3 separate regions of the Homo sapiens genome follow, and regions 1 and 2 are each linked to region 3. The links are contacts of gene promoters, found by promoter capture Hi-C in human tissues and cell types (Jung and others, 2019). All regions are on one chromosome and are shown on one strand. Each heading gives the region's core, a stretch centred on a gene start or on the middle of the fragment in contact. The rest is flanking DNA. Distances are from core to core; before and after follow the strand shown.

The links. The method cuts DNA at HindIII sites, captures the fragments that hold promoters and counts their contacts. A contact is called where the count stands out against the background at its distance.
Region 1: a contact is called between a fragment that was not itself captured here and the fragment with the promoter of DLK1 in region 3, in 3 of the 25 tissues and cell types used here (bladder, neural progenitor cells and thymus).
Region 2: a fragment that was not itself captured here is called in contact with the fragment with the promoter of DLK1 in region 3 in 2 of the 25 tissues and cell types used here (IMR-90 fibroblasts and neural progenitor cells).

What each region holds. Positions count from the first base shown.
Region 1 is chr14:100,399,348-100,402,169 of GRCh38, reverse strand. The region is part of intron 2 of WDR25 (WD repeat domain 25); the gene reads right to left. Among named protein-coding and RNA genes, the nearest start is that of WDR25, 24 kb to the right of the region's middle. The HindIII fragment of the contact is 3,221 bases long and covers 1-2,822 here.
Region 2 is chr14:100,415,884-100,418,730 of GRCh38, reverse strand. The region is part of intron 2 of WDR25 (WD repeat domain 25); the gene reads right to left. Among named protein-coding and RNA genes, the nearest start is that of WDR25, 41 kb to the right of the region's middle. The HindIII fragment of the contact is 4,140 bases long and covers 1-2,847 here.
Region 3 is chr14:100,725,320-100,728,360 of GRCh38, reverse strand. It overlaps DLK1 (delta like non-canonical Notch ligand 1), which reads right to left and starts at 1,469. Exons shown (of 5, transcript NM_003836.7): 1 at 1,226-1,469. The coding sequence starts at 1,292. The HindIII fragment of the contact is 15,317 bases long and covers 1-3,041 here.

The DNA.
Region 1 (2,822 bases), core at 303-2,802, 330 kb after region 3:
CTTTCCCTTTACCTTCTGAGGGGTAGAATAATAATTCACCTGAATTGTCAAGATCTGTTCCAGGAGCATTTGTGCAATAAAGAAAGGTTCAGAAAACCTCCTGTGCCATTATGGGCATTCATGGGAGTAGCAGTAATAACTGGGTTTTAAAAGCCTCGCACGATTGAGCAAAAGTGCTTTGCAGCACTTCCTACTCCTTCATCAGCACCTGCTAATGCCAGTTGTACCCCAGGAGGTGCACCAAGGAGAATGTAACTGAGCCCCTCCAAAGTGTCCATGCTAAAAATCACATCCAAGCCCTCAAATTCCACAGAGAAAATGGCAAGTGCCTGCATACACAGAATGAGCAGAACTAAGACACGTGCAGAGCCACCCAGGAGCAGAGAAGCCAGGTGCAAGTTCCAGGGGATGAAGTGTCCTCCCCACTGCCTCTCAGGCTCTCTGGTACTTTTCCATTCCTCTGTATGAATATGTTTTTCTTCCTTTAGGATCAGAAACAAAGTAAAAAGAAGCCCAAAAAAGAAAAATGTCAACCAACAAATTCTCTCTGTAATTCTCTTACTACCACCAGAACCTGCTGGTACAAAGCACTGGGGAGGAAGAAGTGATCAATCCCCAGGCAGGGGAGCCTCCTGGAGGGGATCCAACCTGAGGCAGCCCTGAACGGCAAGGACTTGCCTCCTGGGGACATGGGCAGGGTGCTCAGGGCCACCCCTGCCAAGGAAGTCTAAGACACCGGGGAGGAGGCAGGGGACCAGCCTCCACGACACTCAGACCTCAATGGACAGAACTGGTCTGAGATGCCCGAATCAACCAGAGAAGGTGATAAGCAAGGAAATGCCTAATGAGGCAGTGCAAGGGGGATAGATGTGGACTGAGACCACGAGGAGGCCGGCAGAAGCAGAAACTGGGCCTCTCTGGCTCTGGCTCGGTGGGGCAGAGGCTGCAGCCACGGGGAGGGGGAGGTCTCTCCCGCCCCAGGAACAGCGAGCAGCCGCCGACGCGCCCCGGAGGCCCAGAGGAAATATTATTGTGAGACAAAAACTGAATTATGAAATCCGCAAGCAATAATTAGTTTAAATTACTACTTCTACTTGAATAATTAAACACGCTTATTTTCACTCACTGATGTTTTATTCATTACCATACATCTTTCTTGAAAATTGTTTTTAACGTGAACATTCTTTTATTTGCAAAGATCCCACAGAGATTTACTATGCTAATTTCAAACCTTTCTTCTAAAATAAAAACAATAACAAAAACACTCCTAGATTATCATCCATTAGTGACTACTGTGTGGGGTCCATTATCAACTTAAGTCATAGCAACTGGATGGAAATACTGTGGGTAGTTGTAAAGTTATTCACACACCAAAGCTTCCTCCCTTTAAAATTCACGACTGAAAGGGCAATATTTAAATAAGCGCAAAGTGATTATGAAAACAAAAAGACCCCAGTGCAGAAAGACCACTTAGCCACAGATGGAAAGTGCCTTTTGCTTTTTATCATGCCCTGTATTAATGAAAATGTTTTTGCATTTTCACAAATAATGTTTGAATTTTATAAGTCTTATTTTTACACACTGGAGCCAGGATACCCAGAAGCACAGTAATAAGGGCTTAAGGTTTTTATTAAACAAAGTTACCTTTGGGAATAAGTACTAACTTAAATATAATCCATGAACTAACTCTTCCTTGCTGGGCTATTAGCTGGTGCTGGCTGAATGGCAAAACTCCAAATCCTAGCTAATGCCAACAAGCTGGGCCTGAGTCAAACCCGGAAAGGTGCAGCAAGGCTGCCACCATCATAAACCAGCTCCACTGAGGACCAGGCGCCAACAGCCCTCCGAGGGGACCACAAAGCCCAGTTAATGTGCAGCCATGTGGGTTGTACGGCAGAACTGACAACAGCTGCACTCACTGGATCACCATGACAAGTATCAAGGAATGTCACTGCGGTACAGGACACACATGCCCCAGCTCTGTCACTTAAAAAGCCACTCCTCCAGAGGAGGAAATGTGCTTTTCACACTCCTGGTGCCCCACAGCACCTGACCCCATGTCTCAGAAATGGCCAGTCCTCACTGAACATTCATTGAATTAAGTATCTTTTTTAAGGCCTCAACTGTACTTCTCTTTCCCCCAAGTCCTTTAAAAGCAGTCATTCAGCCCAGTAATTCAACAAATGCATCTAACCCTCTCCCATGTGTAACTTAAGTTATTCCTGGAACCTGCAGCACCCGTACCCTCCTCATCTGGTATTTTTCCCTCAGTTAATGTAAGTAAATTCAAGTAAGTCTTTTTCACATGGTTGCACCCAGTCTTCTGGAGCCACAGGGAAGTAGATTACTCAAAATTTTGAAGTTTCAATTTTGAAATCAAAAATGACCATCTACTGAACAGAATGATGAGCTGTGGCATCAGCTTGGCCTTTGGAAAATGAAGGGACTCCAGAGGCCACAGGCCAGGGCTTAGCTGATTCTAGAAATCAATATTATCTGCGTCATCATCGTTAGAAGCATCCGGAAAGCAGAACAGAGCTTCTGCTGGGCTTCTGTTTCCGTGGCAACAGCTTCACTGGCCTGTTGCAGGGAAAGGCATAGAAGATGGGAATTGGCAAGAGAGAGCGAGAGGGGCACAGGGGGACGGAAAGGAGGAAATGCAAAGGAGAAAAGGCAGGCGGAGACAGGACCAGGTGCAAGGCCAAAGGAGAGCATAGTGAAAAAAGTACCGAAAAAGACATGAGAGAAAGGATGAGAGAGAAAGGAAAAGGGGGGAAATGCAAGAGAAGGAAGGGAAAGGAATGGAAGGAAACGTCCTAGGC
Region 2 (2,847 bases), core at 257-2,756, 310 kb after region 3:
AACTCACCTTAGCATAGACCCTGACCGTTGTGGCTGAGACTGGCAGGCTGCACTACTGTGCTGTTGTGCAAATTTTTCACCTTTTTTTTTTTTTTGAGACGGAGTCTCGCTCAGTCGCCAGGCTAGAGTGCAGTGGCACAATCTTGGCTCACTGCAACCTCTACCTCCCGGGTTCAAGCAATTCTCCTGCCTCAGCCTCCCAAAAGTAGCTGGGACTTGTACAGGTGTGCACCACCACGCCCAGCTAATTTTTGTATTTTTAGTAGAGAAGGGGTTTCACCGTGTTGGCCAGGATGGTCTCCATCTCTTGACCTCGTGATCCGCCCACCTCGGCCTCCCAAAGTGCTGGGATTACAGGCATGAGCCACGGTGCCCGGCCAAATTTTTCACTTTCAATAGTTGCATGAAAGTCAGAAAGGCCAGTGCTAGGTGACATTGTGTGTATCATGTACAAAATCACAGGCAGTGTGGATATAAGACGTAAGAAGGCAGGGCACAGTGGCTCATGCCTGTTATCCCAGCACTTTGGGAGGCTGAGTGGGGGGTGTGGATCACGAGGTCAGGAGTTCGAAACCAGTCTGATCAACATGGTGAAACCACATCTCTACTAAAAGTACAAAAATTAGCCAGGCGTGGTGGTTGGTGCCTGTAATCCCAGCTACTCAGGAGGCTGAAGCAAGAGAATTGCTTGAACCCAGGAGGCAGAGGTTACAGTGAGCTGAGATGGTGCCACTGCACTCCAGCCTGGGCGACAGAGCGAGCCTCCGTCTCAAAAAAAAAAAAAAGACATAAGCAAACTAAGAACAACCTTCATGAGAACCTATGAGCACATGCACAAGAGCCTAAGTAGCCAGGCCAGGGCAGGAGGAACAGGGGCAGCATGACACGCCTGTCCACAACAGAAACGATGGAAGGCTAGGAACAGCTCAGGGTCACTGCAGCCAGGAAGAAGTCAGGCAGAAAATGCGATGTCAGCCCTGTGTCTGTCTTGCAGACCAATCACACAGTATCAAAGTAAGGGCGATTTGTGCAGCTGTATTCCTGACTCACTCTCCAGAGCCTCACTGGCAGAGACAACAAGGAAAAGGCTCGGTCTCTAGCACCCCCATCCGCAAGCAGAGGTAATGCTCAGGCAGCTCTCTCCCTCCCTGGAGGAGGAAGGTGACTCGCAGTAGCCTCAGAACTGGAAAGGGGAGCCACCAGGGAAGAGTGGCTGGAGCAACCAGCCTGGCTGCTCAGGGTCTTAACAGGATGGTGGGGGTTGGAAGGGGCACCTAGGTCATGGGAAAGAGCCTGGCCCCACACATGGCTCCATCTCCCTGCACCCTCGCCTGACCACCTTGGATCTGAGATACTCAGTCCCACAAATCCCTGAGTGGCTGGGAGACTGAGAAGTCTGCAAAGCATGTGGCATGTGCCAAGTGTCCTACTAAGCAGCTCCTCCAGGTACGGCTGCCTCTCTCCCTGAGCTAGTGTCAGCACCAGGCCTGGCACAGGAGACACGCACAAGTAACAGATGGTGAGGAGATGAGCGGAGGACTCTGGCCATGCCACACACAGCACAGCAACCCTAGGCCCATAGAGAAGGGAGGGGCAGGGCCCAGGCTCGGCTCACCAAAGCTTGGCCCCTGGCCTGTGGTAGTTGGATTGCCCCTGGAGGGACTCTTTCTCCCAAAGCCATATAATTCTGTTGAGTCACTAGTTTTCAGGAATACTGTGACTTCTGAATCATCCACGCAAGATCTCACCCCTGGGCTAAGATGGGCCTTCCAGACCAAGGTTTGTGAGGGTGACTCTCCCTGGGAAAGGTATTGACACATTTTCTCCTCAGTTCAAATCAAGTACCTCATGACTGTGAAGTTACTGGGTCCCATAAGTGAGCCCCAAGTGCCTGCTACAGAAAAGTACCCTACAGTCAGTAACGAGCACCAAGCTTCTCCCTGGGCATCTGGGGACGATGGTCCAGTGCTCCCTCCCCAGTGAGCCCAAAGACAGAACACTGCCGGGGCACAGCCCAGGTGCACATGGTGCTACAGCAACACAGGCCACACTGCCATTTATGCAGTCTGGAGACAAGGGAGAAAGGCAACCTCAAGGAATGGGTACAGAGAGAAGGGGACCCTTGAGCCAAGTCCAGGGGGATAAGGAAGACTTTGCCTGAAAAGAAGGAAGGAAAGGGAAAAGGCCTAAAAGGGTGTGTCATGTTTGGGAAAGAGCTGGAAAGAATTCAAGGCACACAGCAGGCAGTTTGTGATAGGAACAGAAATCGGGGCAGGGTGAATGGGCCGGTGACATGGGTTGGTTTGCATCCCGTACTGTTTGGGCTGCAACCTGTATTGTAGTATGAGGGCAAACAGCAAAGTTTTTACATCAAGGAATGACAATCAGAGTTGAGAATACGTAATAATAGAAATTACAACAGCAGTAGTCACAATTTGGGCATCTACGATTACCAGGAACTATACCAGGCACTTCCCTTGTACTGCCTCTTACTCTTAAAACAACCATGAAAATGAATACCCTTCACAGGGAGAAACCAAACGGCAGCGAGGAATGAGATGAATTTGATAAAGAACTACCTCTAAGTAGAGAAGTCACAACTCAGTGGCTGATTGGACAGCAGAGGCTGAATGACACGTGCTCTGTGAGGGCTAGAACCATATCTGGCTTCCCACTCTATCTGCTGCCCCTGGACCTGACACCTACTAGGTGCTCAGTAAAGATTCAGGTGGCAGTGCACTGACAGAGATGCAGAAGAAAAGAAGGACAGCGGCAGAGCAGGGAGGACACCAGCTGTGCCAATCGTGCTTGGCAACCAGAGGCACTGTCATGAACTGTGTGGGCTTT
Region 3 (3,041 bases), core at 220-2,719:
CAGGCCCCAGGCCAAGGCAAAGGCTGTCTTCGCCCACACAGCCCACCACTGCCCTCGAGGGCACCAACAGCCCTCTTGGGTCCTACCAGCCTGGCACACAGTAGGCACTTCCTATCCGAGCATGGATGGGGCTCAGTGCACTCAGGAAAAACATCTCTGCCACGTTCCCAGCAATGAAATGACCACAGTACACTCTCCCTCGTTCTTAGGAGCAGGAGAAACACCTTCTCCTCGGACTCCCAAAAGCAAATACGACACCTCAAGTCCTCCTAACAGCGGGGACGGGGACCGTGGAGGGAAATATGTTGAGCCCTGGGCATGCAGCCTGACCGTCACTTTTGCAACCTGAGCTGAAAAGAGGAGCAGATTTTGAGGTGTTCAACTCCGGGAAAGCCCAGACAGGTTCACCTGGTGGGCGCCCCAGTAAGGCGTCTGCATTCTTTTTAAGGTTCATCCCTATTAAGCCGGGCACCCAGGTCAAATCTTCCCTCTTTCCCCTACCCCAGACTCTTCGCATTAAAAAAACGATGACGACACAGGGTTTTGCTTAGCGGGCTGAGGTTGCAACAACACTGCTTAGAGATTCTGACACTTTAACAGGCACCTACTGTGTGCATTTACTCAACCAGCTCCCCAGCTTTCTAGACAGCCCCCTTACAACCACTGGTGCAATGAGTGGGGGGGCGCTGCAGGAAGGGGGCAACTCTCTCGCTGTCAGAGACAGATGGCCGCTGCAGACAGAAGTGTCGCAGCCCCTCACCTACAGAAACGCGCCACGCAGGAAGGGCTCAGGCTGGGCTTCTCTGGGAATTGGGGGCTAAGACGGCAAAGTCGTCCCCCACTCCCGCCCCGAGACCTGTTCCAGAACGCTCACACAGGGACACCCCAAAGTTGCACCCCAGAGTATTTTCATAGAAGACTCCACAACAGCACCCCATTTTTCCATACCTCCTTGCTCAGCGCACCGACACCCCTCTGGCGCCACTTCTGCAGGGCGGGAAGGGGCTGGGGGTCTCACACATCCCCTGCGCCCTGGGACCCCTGGGACGGGCCTTGGCATGCGAGCGTGGTGGGTAGGGCGAGACAGGCACAGCGCGGGGCTTAGGGCTAGGCGGGACGGGCGGAGTTGGGGCTCACGAGACGGGGCGTGCGGGGCACCGGGCGGCCGGCGGGGAGTCGCAGGCTTCCCCAGAGGGGGCGCGAGCCGGGCCGCCGGGGAACTCACCATAGGTGCTGTGGCCGAAAGCCAGCAGGAGCAAGAGGACGCGCAGGAGGGCTTCGGTCGCGGTCATCTCTGGGCGGCCGGGGTCGCGGTCCCGGGAGCGGTGCGGGCGCGGGTCCGGCTCCTGGCGCCGCACTGGGCTTCTGGTTGCGGACGCGAAAGGGGGCGCGGGCGCGCAGCGAGGGGAAAGCCAGGGCTGCACCGGGCTGCGCGCTGCGCTCTCCACCGCCGCTGCCGGGGAGCTGCCGCCGCCGCCGCGCGCGCCGCCCTTTTCGTACCGCCTCCCCCCTCGCGGCCCCCGCCCCCCGCCCCCGCCTCCGTGCGCACGGGGCCGGCGCCGGCCAGTCCCTGTGACCCCCTCCCCTCGCAGGGCCGCCCCCGACCACGGCGGCGTCCCAGAAGCCCGCTCGCGCACACGGGTGCACTCTTGGCTAGACGGGCACAGGTATCCCGCGAGCGTTTGGTACACGTTCCCTCACACTGTACAGCACGCGGCCGCCGCGCACATACAGGCCTGCCTAGGACAAGTCGCAGGAATCGAACCTGGGCCGCAGACCTCCCCGGAGAGCACAAATCCGCACGCAGGAACACCGAAACACTTATCGCTGAAGTCCCGGGCACACGTGCAATGGTTAGATACCCAGGAAAACACAAAGGCGCACTATGAAGATGTGAACTAAGCACATAATTACACACGCACACAGAAAAACCCCCAGGAAAAGCCCGACGCCCCCTGTACCCCTGGCCATGAAGACGCAGAAAAATGCAGTTGCCCCGTGGCAACCCACACCCCGCAACGGAAACGCACACGGCAACTCAAACACACTGTAGCCCAGACGCCGTATAGACACAGTCCTAGGTGGCAGAGGGTCAAGCGGACCTGCGGTTACCCAACCATGGGCATCCTCCCCCATGTGCCGACCCCCTGCACACAGACGCTTACGCAGAGCCACCTGCACACCCAAACACGCAAACACACGTATAAACAGACGGACACCCGTGCCCGCATTCAGTCACACCCACCCCCGCACACACAGCATCTCAGTCAGGGCCTTAGCCGCGCTGAAACACAAATGCACCGACTCTTACGCACACATGTACGCACAGCCATGCACCTGATACCCACAAGCACACATACCCAGCTGACTCGTGGTCACACACACTGACAAAAACATATACGCAGTCCCCACACACACACGATCGCATCTGTCTTTGTCCACAGTGGCATGCATGGGCAGCCTCACCAATGTGCTCTCACATACACACAATAGCACTCCAGGCACTCGGCACGTATTCCAGACTCACTGGGAGACCTTCTCTGAGGGGTCGCCCGCTGGAGAGGTGGAGGTAGAGGATGCTGATTGCCAGAGACCCTCTTCCTCTGCAGAGCTCCCAGGGAGAGGGAGTGCTCCTCAGACACCCCTCCTCCCCATTGCCCCCGGCTTAGGCTTAGAGCCCTGCTGGAGAGGAAAGCTCTGCACCCCTGCACCCAGTCTGGATGGGGGAGGCTCAGAAAGATAGGGAGGGAGAGGGGTAGGAGGGGATTAAAGATATTTCACCTCCTGGGGGAAGGGTCCCAGGCGTCCCAATCTTTGGGTGGGTCGTTTAGGATACTTAATTTGCATATATTAATTTGCATACATATCCTAGATGCAGGGAGTGGGTGCCCACCCAGCTCGCGGCCTCCCCTTCTTCACAGTGCTGCAGGGGGGTGTGATCTCACCACTGTGAACCTGGAGGCTGGATGCTTTGACCTCCTGGCCCTCTAGTCCAGCCCTGGCAGGTCTGAGCACAGATTTCCCATCTTAGCCATAGATGT